Regions from separate parts of the Homo sapiens genome. Here regions 2, 3 and 4 are each linked to region 1. The links are contacts of gene promoters, found by promoter capture Hi-C in blood cells and fetal thymus (Javierre and others, 2016). All regions are on one chromosome and are shown on one strand. The core of a region is centred on a gene start or on the middle of the fragment in contact, and the rest is flanking DNA. Distances in the headings are between cores, read along the strand shown.

Region 1 (3,337 bases), core at 280-2,779:
CTGAAGTCTGTGAAAACTACTCCAGCCAGGACCACCATTATAGCCTGCTGCCTGTTGTGTTCACAATCGATGCACAAACTCAACCCTGAAATGGAGAGAAAAATAGGGGAAAAAAGACATTAGGAAATCCTAGCTCTATGTCATCTGGACATTAGAAAGCACTTGGTTGGACAAAGCTTTTTCTCCCCCACAGCACATGCCTGTTTCAGCATCTCAGCCCACATTCACGGAGAGGGAGAATATAGCAATTGTTAAGAATGCAGACTCTAGCACTGCATGCTCTGCTGTTTATTTGTGTTATTTGGGCTAGGTTTTTTAACCGTCTGTGCCTCGGTGAATCCCATCTACAAAGTAGAGATAATAATAGTACCTACCTCACAGGGCAGTTGTAAGGATTAAATGAGGTAACCCGGGTGTAACATTTAAAACAGTGGCAGAGTACATACAGGGATCTGAACAAATGTTAGCTACTATTAGTGATATGTGAGTGGGGGAAGCACACTGCCTTGGACTTGAGGCAATATCAAGTCTGAGTTTCTGGAAAAACACTTGTGGAATAAGTAAGGGCTGGCCACCTCCTAAAACCGGACAAAAGATCTGGCTTGCCTAGATCCTTAGCGTGACTGCTTCTCCTCCTGCCTTTCTAGAGGCAGTATTACGTGATGGAAATACTTGGTGGGTGCTGTGGGCACAAAGATAAGTTAATGTGTTTTTATTCCCTAGGAGCTGAGTCGAGAGTAGGAGAAAAATGCATAAATAATTACCAGGTAGGATGATTAAGCAATATACTGGAGGCAGCAACAGAAACACACCGTGGAAAAAAAATACCCACGGCGTGGATGAAGATATGAGATGTGTGAAAGCGCTAGACACAGGCAGCCACCTGCACCCATGTAAAATTGGATTATTGCTGACTCCTACAAGGCCCACTTTAACGCTTCTTTCAACCAGAATCCCTGCAGAACTAATTTTGTAGAACCGCCGGGGATAAAGACCTTTATTTGCAATGTCGAACTCCAGCAGAGTAACCCCTTTTGCTTTCCACACGCGCAAACCCGGGTCCCAAACGCTGCAGTTCGCGTTTCCCGGCTAACGGAAGAAACACGAGGAACTGTTTGCAGATCTAGGGGATGAAGCCAAAAAACGGAAAGCGAGGCCGAAAGGGCGCAACCACCACGTCTGGAGGAGGCCAGTGAAGTAGAGAAAGGGGAAGGTCAGCCCTGCCCCAGCGCGCTCTGCGTAACCGGGACTTCCTCCGCGCGGCAAAGCCGGGGAACCTCCCTGGCGCCTGCGCCACCGTGGCGAGACTCGGCGCCGTGGACGTGGAGAGAGGGCGACGCACCTGCGCGAAGACGGCAGCGGGAGAAGCCGCTCCAGTGCGGTTGCGCGGCGGCCCAGGCGTCGAGGGGAGCCTCGGCGGGGAGCGCACCGCGCGCCTGCGCGGAGAGCTGCGTGACGCGGCGGCGCGCAAGGGACGTGCGGAGTGAGTGGCGCTGCGGGTGGGGCCGTCGGCGGCGCTGGTGAGCTTTGCGGAGCTGGGCGGTGCCGAGGAGGAGGAGGTGGCGGCCTGGGTCTGACGCGGCCCTGTTCGAGGGGGCCTCTCTTGTTTATTTATTTATTTTCCGTGGGTGCCTCCGAGTGTGCGCGCGCTCTCGCTACCCGGCGGGGAGGGGGTGGGGGGAGGGCCCGGGAAAAGGGGGAGTTGGAGCCGGGGTCGAAACGCCGCGTGACTTGTAGGTGAGAGAACGCCGAGCCGTCGCCGCAGCCTCCGCCGCCGAGAAGCCCTTGTTCCCGCTGCTGGGAAGGAGAGTCTGTGCCGACAAGATGGCGGACGGGGAGCTGAACGTGGACAGCCTCATCACCCGGCTGCTGGAGGGTGAGTGCGCGCCTGGCCGCGGGACAGAGGGAGGTCGGGCACCGCCGCCGACCCCTGCGTCCCCGTCTGCCGCCGGAACGCGAGGGGACCCCTTTCCCGCCCCGAGACGAGTCTCTGGGAGCGCGGCGCGGCGGACGAACCGAGGAGGGGGCGAGGAGGCTCTGGGCGCGGGGGAGCGGCCTCTGGGAGCGCGGTCAGGGGAGATCGGGGGAGAGGGGGCCGTTCCCGCGGACCCTCGGGGGCCAGGCCCGCCGGCCGAAGGCTGTGCGGAGCGGGTCTGCGGGAGACAGCCTTTCGGAAAGGCCGCCGGGCTCCGCGCGCCGTGGTGCTCGCCTCCGGTGACCCGAGGATGGGGAGAGGATGCCTGCCACTGGGCTTTGTGCGTCCGTGGAATCACTGTTCTTCTCTGTTCTCTTTGTGCATTGCCCTTGGCTGCCTCCGATTGTCGTTCCGGGAGTGAATTTTACGTATATATATATAAACCTGTCCTTAACAGGACTGCTTCGTCTGCTCTGCATTTTTACACAATGCTATATAGAATGGATTCTTCTTAAAGAGAGGATAAAATTAGCGGGAATTAATCTACCGTTTGTTACTTGGCCTAAAAAAATTGTAAGACAAGATATTTGATCAGGTTGAAGATGCACCTAAGAAATGTGATGTATGTAGATGGGTTTGCTGAAGGGATTGGCTTTTGCATTTGATTTGAGCAGAGCTTAATTTCTGCACAAACTTAGTGAAAATCTATTTTTAAAGCCTGTCTTGTATTCGAAAGGTATTTGTAGGTCTACGCAGCATTTGAACTTTCCGGGCTCAAGTGTTCTTATTGAATAGTTTTATGTTGGTGGGAAGGCAAGGGGGGAAAACGAAGAGGTGGACTAGCCGGGAGTTAAATGTATTGATTCATTGCAGGATATTATTCAAAGTTAAATGCAGTCTTCTGCCAAACAGTCCCTCTACCCTAAAGTTTTCGTCATCAATAATTGTTTTGTGAGTGTGTAGAAAAGCCTTTAATCCTTTTTAAACAATTTAGAGGCCTCTTTGTTAGCCGCCGTCCAGCGATTGCATATGTACTGTTTGCTTTCAAATTACCTTAAGATAATTGCTAGAGTGAAGCAGTATGTACTTATATTTGGAAAATCATCAAAGAATATTGTAATGGGGGAGGGGTAATTCCTTTTTCTCAAAGTATGTGTCGGTATCTCAAACCCAAGTTCTGTGAGTACCTGTTCTGTAACTAAATACTGTGTATTTGCTCCAGATGTGAAAGCCATCCAGCAGTCTTAAGACTGAATAGGAAGCAAAAGTTTTACCAGGAACTCTTATTTACCTTTTCCTTTACTATCAAGTTATTCCTGGGAGGCCCCCTGGTGCCTGCAGTCAGTGTTCACTACCTAAGACTTTGTTTCAGATGTGAACATCTTGCTGGGTCTTTGAGAAATTTGCTTTGAAAATAATTGT
Region 2 (3,207 bases), core at 73-2,572, 1.1 Mb before region 1:
TGTTCTTATGGCCATTACCCAGTTAGCTGTTGTTCAAGGTTTACTTTTTTTAAAAAAGATAATTTATTGTTTTATAAAAATTCAAACCATGCATGATATTTATAAGATGAAACCATCACCCCGATTCCCACTAGAAGTAACATCATCATTCAGCGACTAGCATTCCACATTTCTATATACACAGATAGAAGGATGAATGGATAAAAGTGCTTTTACAAAAATGGGGTACTAGAGGTAGCTTTTGTTTTGTTTTGAGACAGGGTCTTGCTCTGTCGCCCAGGCTGGAGTACAGTGTAGTGATCTCAGCTCACTGTAACTTCCACCTCCCTGGCTCAGGTGATCCTCCCACCTCAGCCTCCCAAGTAGCTGGGACTACAGGTGTGAGCCACCACACCTGGCTAATTTTTGTATTTTTGTATTTTTGGGATGGAGTCTCGCTCTATTGCCTAGGCTGGAGTGCAGTGGTGTGATCTTGGCTCACTGCAATCTTTGCATCCCGGGTTCAAGCGATTCTCCTGCCTCAGCCTCCTGAGTAGCTGGGATTACAGGTGGCCTGCTACCATGCCTGACTAATTTTTGTATTTTTAGTAGAGATGGGGTTTCACCATGTTGGCCAGACTGGTCTCAAACTCCTAACCTCAAGTGATCTGCCCGGCTTAACCTCCCAAAGTGCTGGAACTATAGGTGTGAGCCACTGAGCCTGGCCTGGAGGTATTTTTTTTTTTTTAATGACAGCTTTATTAAGATATAATTCATATACCATAAAGTTCACTCGTTTAAAGTGTATGGTTGTTTTAGTCTGTCCACAGAGTCGTGTGTTGATAATTACTATCTTCAGAATATTTTTGTCATCCTGAAAAGAAACCCCATACTCATTACCAATCACTCCTTATTTTCTGTTCCCTTTAGCCCCTAGTGACTACCCCATTTTCCATTCCCATTGGCAATATGATTTCTCCACAACCAGTTCCTCCATAACCTTGCCAACTTTTGTTATTCTTCTTGTTTTTGATTATAGCCATTCTAGTGGATATAGAGTGGTATCTCATTGTGGTTTTTACTTTTATTTTCTTAATAACTAATGATATTGAACATCTTTTTAATGTACTTATTGGCCATTGGTATGTATATATTTAGAGAAATGTCTATTAGAATTCTTTGCCAATTAAAAAAATTCTGATATAATTCATAATTATATCAAATTAATTCACAAAAAAGTTGATATAGTTCATAAAAACAGCTTTATTGAGATAATTCACATACCATACAATTCACCCATTTAAGGTATACAATTCAGTGGCTTTTAGTATATTCACAGAATTGTACAACTATCACCACAGTCAATTTTAGAATATTTTCATCATCTCAAGAAGTAACCTGATATTCTTCAGCTAGCACTTTCCCATTCCTCCCATTCTTCTTCCTCTGTTCCACACTCACCCCCGCCCTAAGCAACCAGATGTTTCCCAAGAGATTTACATTCTGGTTTTGTGTCTTTCATTTTAAATGCATTGTGTTTCTATAAAAGTTTCCCCTGTGATCATTTGCAGCAACTCATGGTCTGCTGTTCCTGCCCATTGGCGTGAATATTGGTCATTGAACAAAGTCTAGGGGATCATCATGTGCAGTTTAGGGCCAGTAGGAGGAAGTTAGATTTGGCAGTGTGCAGAGGTTACTCCAGTCTTGGATAACCAGATGTTTATTGTCTTATATGATGGAATATCCTTCAGCATAACACAAATGTAACACTTCTTTAATGATCTTTCTTGACATAGATATGTGTTGATTGACACACCTGGACAGATTGAGGTATTCACCTGGTCAGCTTCTGGGACAATTATCACTGAAGCCCTTGTGAGTATTCTAGGACTTGCTACTGAGAGTAGCTAGAGGGGCTAGACTGGATGAGCATTTATTTTTAATTGCCTTGGACTTTATATGGGAGGAAGTTGTAGAAGCTCTGCACACCCTGCCTAAAGTGGTTTTCCCTTGTTAAGGATGGTGGAAAAAGAGTTTGAGGACAGATCGTGAGCCCTCTGACCAAGGCTTTGATTTTTTTGTGGCTTTAGGCATCCTCATTTCCAACAGTTGTCATCTATGTAATGGACACATCGAGAAGTACCAACCCAGTGACCTTCATGTCCAACATGCTCTATGCCTGCAGGTAATTGATTGTTGGTGGGGAAAGTGTTCCATCAAGGTATAAGGCCTTTTTCTCTTCTTCTTCCTCTTTTTTTTTTTTTTTTGAATCTGGTTGCTTACCCCTGGATTTGTGCTCATTCAGATTTGCTGTTCAGTTGAGTGGCTGTGAGCTGGGGAAGGTCAGAGGAGAAAAGAGGCACATGTGCTGTTGGCATTCTCTCTCAATACCCTCTGATCTTCCTCCCTTGTTGTTACAAAAAGGTGATGTATGAATATGAACTGTCTGATAGTTGTTCCCAGTTGGATAAAATCCAAGTTTAAAGATAAAGTCCTCTGGGCTGGGTCTGTCATCCCTACACTTGGGAGGCCAAGGTGGGAGGATCGTTTGAGCTTGGGAGTTTGAAACCAGGCTGGGGAACATAGCAAGACTCTGTCTCTACAAAAAATGTTTTAAAATTAGCCAGCGTGGTGGCACGCCCTTGTAGTCCCAGCTACTTGGGAGGCTGACGTGGGAGGATTGCTTGAGCTCAGGTGGTTGAGGCTGTAGTGAGCCATGATTGTGCCACTGCACTCCGGCTTGGGGCAACAAGAGCCTGGGGCAACGAGAGAGAGAGAGAAGAATAGAGTCCTCTGGCCTAAATGATGCTGGTAGAGTGAAATTGTAACATGAGGAGATACCATGAATAAGAAGATTTATCCATAATTGTAAAATGCACAGGTGGCCAGGCATGGTGGCTCATGCCTATAATCCCAGCACTTGGGGAGGCTGTGGTGGGAGGATCGCCTGAGCCCAGGAGTTTGAGACCAGCCTGGGCACCATGGTGAAACCCCATCTCTACAAAATATACAAAAAATTAGCCAGGGATGGTGGTGTGTGCCTGTAATCCCCGCTACCTGGGAGGCAGAGGTGGAAGGATTGCTTGAGCCTGGGAGGCCAAGGTTGGAGTGAGCTGTGATGATGTCACTGTACTCCAGGCTGGGCAACAGAGTGAGACCCTGTCTCAAAAAAATAAAATGCACTGGTTTGCCCCAAATGTGGCACCATTAGCAGAGGAAGGGCATGCC
Region 3 (3,280 bases), core at 540-3,039, 1.0 Mb before region 1:
CTTTTGTCCCATTCCTGTGTCACTGTTTGGCCCTGAAGGACACAGCCTCTTTCCCCAGGGCCCCTCCTTTCTGAAATGGGGATGTTGTCCCTATGCCATTCCTACTTCTCAGAATTATTCCAGGGTGAGATGAGCTCATATCTGAGAAGGGTTACACTCAGAACTCTCTAGCACCTCGGGTCATGGCAACTGGAGACAGCATCTTGCTCTGAACCAGGCCCCAGCGTCCTACAGATGGGTGACCTGGTGTCATTATGGGAGTAAATATTGAGCTGCTCTCCTTTTATTTTGGATTGGGTATAATTTAGTACCCTGTTCTCACTCTTTTATTAATAAAATAAAACAATAAACACATACTACCATCAAAAGAACACTCACAGCCTGTGTTTATGTGTTTATGTTGTGTCTGTGTCTAAGAAGCTGCAACTGCTATGTCAATTTTTAACAAAATGAGTTTTCACTCAGTGCTGGGGGGTATGATAATTCAAAACAAAAAGGGAGGGCAGATTCTTCCACTGTGTCTTTTAGTTTTTGCTTTTTTACTCTTTTCCTTTTTCTTTCTTTTTTTTTTTTCTGTTAAAACAGAGACATTGGCCTAAGGCCTAGGCACAGAAACTAAGAGTGCCTGTGTTCACTCGGGAAAGATTCCACAGGGGAATCAGGCCCATGCCCCTCCCGTCTCCTGTTCCCAGGGGCTTTGTTTCCTGCTCTCCTCTGCCCTTTCTGAAAAGGACCCCACAGGTGATCTGAACCCCCTGAATATGGTGCCTGGGGAGAGGAATGTGGGCATGAGGAAAGTAAGGAATGAGGAGGAGAGGAGAAATAGAACAATAAGAGAGAATAATCAGCATAAACTTTGTGATCTCAGGGCCAGGGATGAGAGAAACAATGGTCATTTATACATTTTAATCATGAGTTCAGTCTTGTGGCTGAAAGTAACAGAAACAAAATTCTAATTAGCTTGAGCCCCAAAGATGAAGGTGTTGGCTTACATAAACTACTGTGGAGACAGGGATAAAACAAATGGCTTCAAGGAGTGGACATCCTTGGGACGTCCCCTCCCCTCAGGATGTTGATTTATCCACCTGCTCTCAAGGCTGTGAGGCTCTGTGTGCCCATCCTCACAGCCCCATGGCCAGAGAGGAAAGCACTCTTTCACACCAGCTCCGGCTAGAGGACAGCAAACAGCAGCATACCAGTGTGCAGTCGTCACAGTTCAAAAATGTTACACTTTGTTCTTTTCCAGTACTGATGAAGGAATGGAAAATGGAGACCCTAATGCTGTGATACACTATTGGAGGGAACATAAATTGTCCCAGTCCCTTTGGAGGGAAATTTGGCAGTATCTATTATAATTTGAAATGTGGTTACCATGGATCTCATGATGCCATGTCTCAAAATCCAGACCAGTAACTCTCATGTATGTGCACAAGGAAACACAGGCCAGGGTGTTATGTGAAGAATTATTTGTAATGCAAAATTAGGAATAACATAAGTGTCCATCTTTAAACCATGATATATTTTATACTCTGAAAACCTGGAAACTATTAAAAAGAATGAAGTATGTACTGACATAAACCCCTAAGACATCTTGGTAAATGAAAAATGTAATTTGCAGTATATAGATACAATATGGTATCACTCAAGCATAAACCAAAACCAAAACAAAACCTTGAAATAATAATATATATTTATATATGTTTATAACATATTTCTAAATATATGAAAATGCATAGAAAAGGTCTAGATTCACTAAATTACCTTGGTTATCTCTGGTGAAGCTAAGATTAGGTGTTGAGATTGAAGGAGACTGTCAGGTTTAAACTTTTTCAGTGATAACGTATTCAGGTATAATTTATGTATTTAAAATTAATTTTAAAACTTTTAAAGGAAAAAGCTATGGAAGGAAAGGCATTCTGATTTGTTCAACCCAGACCATATGACTCTTCCTAGACCAATCACTGTGGCCAAGGGGCTCCTAGGGTTCAGTGACTGGCCCAACCTGGGTTTCACACTCATTCCTGTGAACACTGGAGCAATACACAATAATTGGCACAATAATTGGCAGCTCCTTCCATAATTACAGCTGAATTGGTGAAGGAGGATTTCCCCCAAAGAAGGGAGGTGCTGTTCTGGGCAGACAAAACAATAAGTCTTCTCGATAGTGGGCTTTATCATCTTCATGGGTTTAAGTATGTGTCATCCAAGGCTGAAATACTTCGTTCAATACAGTTCTGTTACAATATATAGGATAAAAATTTGTTCTGCGCCAGGTGCGATGGCTCATGCTTGCAATCCCAGCAATTTGGGAGGCTGAGGTGGGTGGATCATTTAAGGCCAGGAGTTTGAGACCAGCCTAGCCAACATGGCGAACCCCATCTCTACTAAAAAATACAAAAAAATTAGCTGTGTGTGGTGGCGCATGGCTATAATCCCAGCTACTTGGGTGGCTGAGGCACGAAAATCACTTGAACCTGGGAAGTAGAGGTTGCAGTGAGCTGAGATTGCACCACTGTACTCCAGCCTAGGTGACAGAGTGAGACTCTACCTCAAAGAAAAAAAAAAAAAGAATTTGTTCTGCTCATTGCTATATCCCTAGAACCCAGGAAAGTTCTGGGTATATAGTAGATGCTCAGTGTAATAGACACTAGTCAAATGGCAACAGCACTACTATAGCCTATGATTTTTTTGTTTTTGTTTTTGTTTTTGTTTTTTGAGATGGAGTCTCGCTCTGTTGCCCAGGCTGGAGTGCGATGGCACAATCTCAGCTCACTGCCACCTCAGCTTCCTGGGTTCAAGTGATTCTCCTGCCTCAGCCTCCCGAGTAGCTGGGATTACAGGCATGCCCCACCATGCCTGGCTAATTTTTGTATTTTTAGTAGAGACAAGGTTTCGCCATGTTGGCCAGGCTGGTCTGGAACTCCTGACCTCAGGTGATCTGCCTGCCTCTGCCTCCCAAAGTGCTAGGACTACAGGCGTGAGCCACCGCACCCGGCTGCCTATGGAAATGCCTTATTCTGGAAACTATGACTATGAAGAGAACTATGACTCCTCCCTCAATGCTCTCAGCAGAGGCAGAGGGGAGAAAGGAAGAGGAAGTCAGACTGACAGCTCCGTTTTCCTCCCAAGGCCAATGTTCAAGTCAGATCAGGGAGTGACCATGACGCACGCCTGGGACAGCTTGACAATGATCTGGCCATGGCATGGGGTTGGGCAGGAGGAGTTGGCCCAGTTACTTTTGATTAAGTGGGGCTTCCTTCTGTGTGTTACAGCCTCATAG
Region 4 (3,095 bases), core at 104-2,603, 1.4 Mb before region 1:
TCAGGAGGCTGAGGCAGGAGAATCGCTTGAACCCGGGAGGCGGAGGTTGCAGTGAGCCGAGATCACGCCACTGCACTCCAGCCTGGGCAACAAGAACAAAACTCCGTATCAAAAAAAAAAAAAATACACTTCTCATGGAAGGCAGCAGCAGGATGTAATGGTACAAATTCTGGATACACAGTAAAGGAATAGATGATCAGTAAATTCGTACTGAGTTTCTAAAACCTTCCATTGCACCCCAATCTGTCTGGTTCCCATGCTGCTCCAGGATGCCAGCTTGACCTCCCCAGCCAAGAAAAAATAATGACACAACACTGCACCTTAAGTATGAAATTACTTTGAATACACTGCTTAGCTTAATATATTGTTTCCTAAAGTGTTCCTAGGGTACAACTGGCGGTATGCAAGATGATTTTAATGGTACGAAAACGAACATTTTAATGACTAGTGCTTTTATTTCAACTTACATAAACAATTATAAGTAGCCCATGAAACCCACGGTTTCATTTATATTGCTTAGGTCGAGACTAATGCATTTAAACTTTTTAAGTAAGTCAATTTAAAGAGAACTATTCAGAAAACAATAGTACAATTGATAAGAGATTGCAAAAATAGTGATGGCACGGGATTGACTTAAAATTGTATATGCCTCTGGAACAAAGAGGTTTGTCCATACCCTATACATCCCTCCAACAAAGTGAGTTGCCTCCGACGGAGTTGAAGTCGCCACCTCTGACTTCCCCAACAGGCAGCCAACTTGCCACGGGACAAAAGGACTAGACAGGGAAACACAACTGGCCCTTGGTTACGCCAATGGCGTTGCAGCGCGCGGGGCACAACCCTCGGGGTTAAAGAGCCTCCTCGAGGAAGAGGCTGGGACACAGCTGAAAGAGATTGACCCACAACCACTCTAGGGGCCATCACCTGCCCTTCTTCAGTCCTGGGCGTGAAGGTAGATTTCTCCCCTAGCCTGTGCGGGAGAGGAGCCCTGGTTTTTCTAACAAGGACTACTGTAGGTTCGCCGAGTTCGAGGGACGCTACGTATGCAGCGCCTACGCCCGGACACAGGCTTCCGCGTTACCGACACCGCGTGGGGGAGGAGGGCAAGACCCGAGGCTTGCAGAGATGGGGGGTGCACGGTGGCCACAGTAGGGAAGGTGCGGAGCATGATGGTGCTCTGTAGGAGCGCAGACGCTGAAAGGCGCGCTGCTGTGGCTGGGAGAAGAGCGGAGCCAGGAGTTTGTTCCCAATATCTTAGTGCTATGGCAAAAGAAGGGGGAGGAGTAATTGTGGGGCCCCCCACACACCCGCTGCGGCGATACACTCACCCTCGCCAAAGTCCTTCCGGAAGTCTAAGTTCGAAGATGGCGCCGCCTGTCTGGTCGCGGTCTTATGACGAAATCTTGTTAGCTGCTCTTCACTGACGCCCCCACCCCAGTGCACAAGGTAAACACGTGTGCTTGGTCCGGAGTCGGTGCCGGGCTAGTTTTCTCTTAGACTCTGTATTCCATAATGCAGCGCGGCCAGAGTCACCGAGCCCTCCGAAGCCAGCCGAGTTCCAGGGCGTCTTCAGCGGCGCCAGGGACGCTGCAGGGCCTCATGGGAGTTGCAGTGTCAAAAAGGGGAGATCGACGCCTGCGCGGCCAACGGGATCCCACGCGGCCTCGACGGGAGCCGGGAGTAGGCGGACTCCCAGGCCGGGCTCGCGCTCTGGATCCCTGAATCCGGCCTTTCCGGCCGGACTGCCGCGCCTGTGGCCGGAAGAGCCAGCTAGACCAGAGAGTCTGTACCTGCAACCCTGGCGGCGTCCGAGCCCAAGGCGGAGTCTGGGAGACAAAGAAGTCCTCGCCGCCGGCCGCTGGAGGATTCTGCCAGTAGTGAAGTCAGGGATGGGCCCGAGAGAGCTTGGAAAGAGGACAAGGAAGGGAAGGAGTAGGAGTAGAAAAGCATGACTTTGGCTGGGTATGGTAGCTCCTGTCTGTAATCCCAGCACTTTGGGAGGCCAAGGCGGGGGAGGATCACTTGAGCCCAGGAATTCGATACCAGCCTGGGCAACATAGTGAGACCCCGTTTTTATTTTTATTTTTATTTTTTCCTGAGATGGAGTCTTGCTCTGTCCCCAGGCTGGAGTGCAGTGGCGCGATCTCGGCTCACTGCAAACTCCGCCTCCCGGGTTCAAGCAATTGTCCTGCCTCAGCCTCCCGAGTAGCTGAGATTACAGGCGCCCGCCACCAAGCCCGGATAATTTTTGTCTTTTTAGTAGAGAAGGGGTTTCACTATGTTGGCCAGGCTGGTCTCGAACTCCTGACCTTGTGATACGCCTGCCTCAGCCTCCCAAAGTGCTGGGATTACAGGCATGAGCCACCGCGCCCGGCCTAATTTTTTAATTTTTTCTAGAGATGGGGTCTCGTTATGTTGACCAGGCTGGTCTTGAACACCTGACCTGAAGTGATCCTCTTGCCTCAGCCTCCCATAGTGCTGCGATCACAGGTGTAAGTCACTGAGTTTGGCCATTATTCCATTTCTGTACACAAAAACCTTTCTCATTCTGTGCTATAACTAGTTAGCATTTAATTGGGTGGATGTGGTATAACTAGTGCCTTGTTGATATTGATGCATATTTACATGGTTTTGCTGTTATAAACAATGGTCCCTTGCTATTATAAATCACACTGCTATAAGTAACCTTGCATCTAAATTACTTCAAATGTGTAACTATATGGGTAGGATAATTTCTAGAAGTGGAATTGTGAACCAAAGTTTTAGGTGCATTTGTAATTTTGATTTATAACCAATCTTTTCACTGATCTACTTCTCTGCCTCTAATTTCTACTAGGTGTTTGTTTGTTTGTTTGTTTGTTTTGAGACAGGGTCTTGCTCTGTCACCCAGGCTGGAGGACAGTGGTGCAATCACGGCTCACTGCAGCCTCAACCTGCCACCTCAGCCTCCTGAATAGTTGGGGTGTGTGGCAGGTGTATACCACCACTTCCAGGTTTTTTTGTTGTTGTTGTTTAATAGAGATGAGGTCTTGCTATATTGCCCAGGCAGGTCTCACACTACTGAGCGCAAGCGATCCTCCTGCCTATGCCTCCCA

The links. Contacts are between HindIII fragments. The CHiCAGO score rates a contact against its expected background, and 5 or more counts as called.
Region 2: a fragment that was not itself captured here is called in contact with the fragment with the promoter of PPP1CB in region 1 in 1 of 17 cell types (neutrophils); the score reaches 5.8 in neutrophils.
Region 3: a fragment that was not itself captured here is called in contact with the fragment with the promoter of PPP1CB in region 1 in 1 of 17 cell types (activated CD4 T cells); the score reaches 5.3 in activated CD4 T cells.
Region 4: the fragment with the promoter of GTF3C2 here is called in contact with the fragment with the promoter of PPP1CB in region 1 in 1 of 17 cell types (non-activated CD4 T cells); the score reaches 5.5 in non-activated CD4 T cells.

What each region holds. Positions count from the first base shown.
Region 1 is chr2:28,750,301-28,753,637 of GRCh38, forward strand. It overlaps PPP1CB (protein phosphatase 1 catalytic subunit beta), which reads left to right and starts at 1,530. Exons shown (of 8, transcript NM_002709.3): 1 at 1,530-1,876. The coding sequence starts at 1,825. PPP1CB-DT (PPP1CB divergent transcript) reads right to left here and starts at 1,456. Exons shown (of 5, transcript XR_007086259.1): 1 at 1,343-1,456; 2 at 1-85. RefSeq lists enhancers at 943-1,152, 1,456-2,100 and silencers at 1,283-1,472, 1,963-2,182. The HindIII fragment of the contact is 5,134 bases long and covers 175-3,337 here.
Region 2 is chr2:27,633,071-27,636,277 of GRCh38, forward strand. GPN1 (GPN-loop GTPase 1) reads left to right here. Exons shown (of 14, transcript NM_007266.4): 6 at 1,776-1,854; 7 at 2,070-2,164. Among named protein-coding and RNA genes, the nearest start is that of GPN1, 5.6 kb to the left of the region's middle. The HindIII fragment of the contact is 9,452 bases long and covers 1-3,207 here.
Region 3 is chr2:27,724,345-27,727,624 of GRCh38, forward strand. All of the region lies in intron 2 of LOC105374378 (a long non-coding RNA gene), which reads left to right. Among named protein-coding and RNA genes, the nearest start is that of LINC01460, 10 kb to the left of the region's middle. The HindIII fragment of the contact is 5,291 bases long and covers 1-3,280 here.
Region 4 is chr2:27,355,411-27,358,505 of GRCh38, forward strand. It overlaps GTF3C2 (general transcription factor IIIC subunit 2), which reads right to left and starts at 1,354. Exons shown (of 19, transcript NM_001035521.3): 1 at 1,329-1,354. It overlaps GTF3C2-AS2 (GTF3C2 antisense RNA 2), which reads left to right and starts at 1,355. Exons shown (of 4, transcript NR_183827.1): 1 at 1,355-1,446; 2 at 2,398-2,492. RefSeq lists enhancers at 748-1,361, 875-1,154, 1,205-1,544, 1,362-1,975, 1,555-1,684. The HindIII fragment of the contact is 6,500 bases long and covers 1-3,095 here.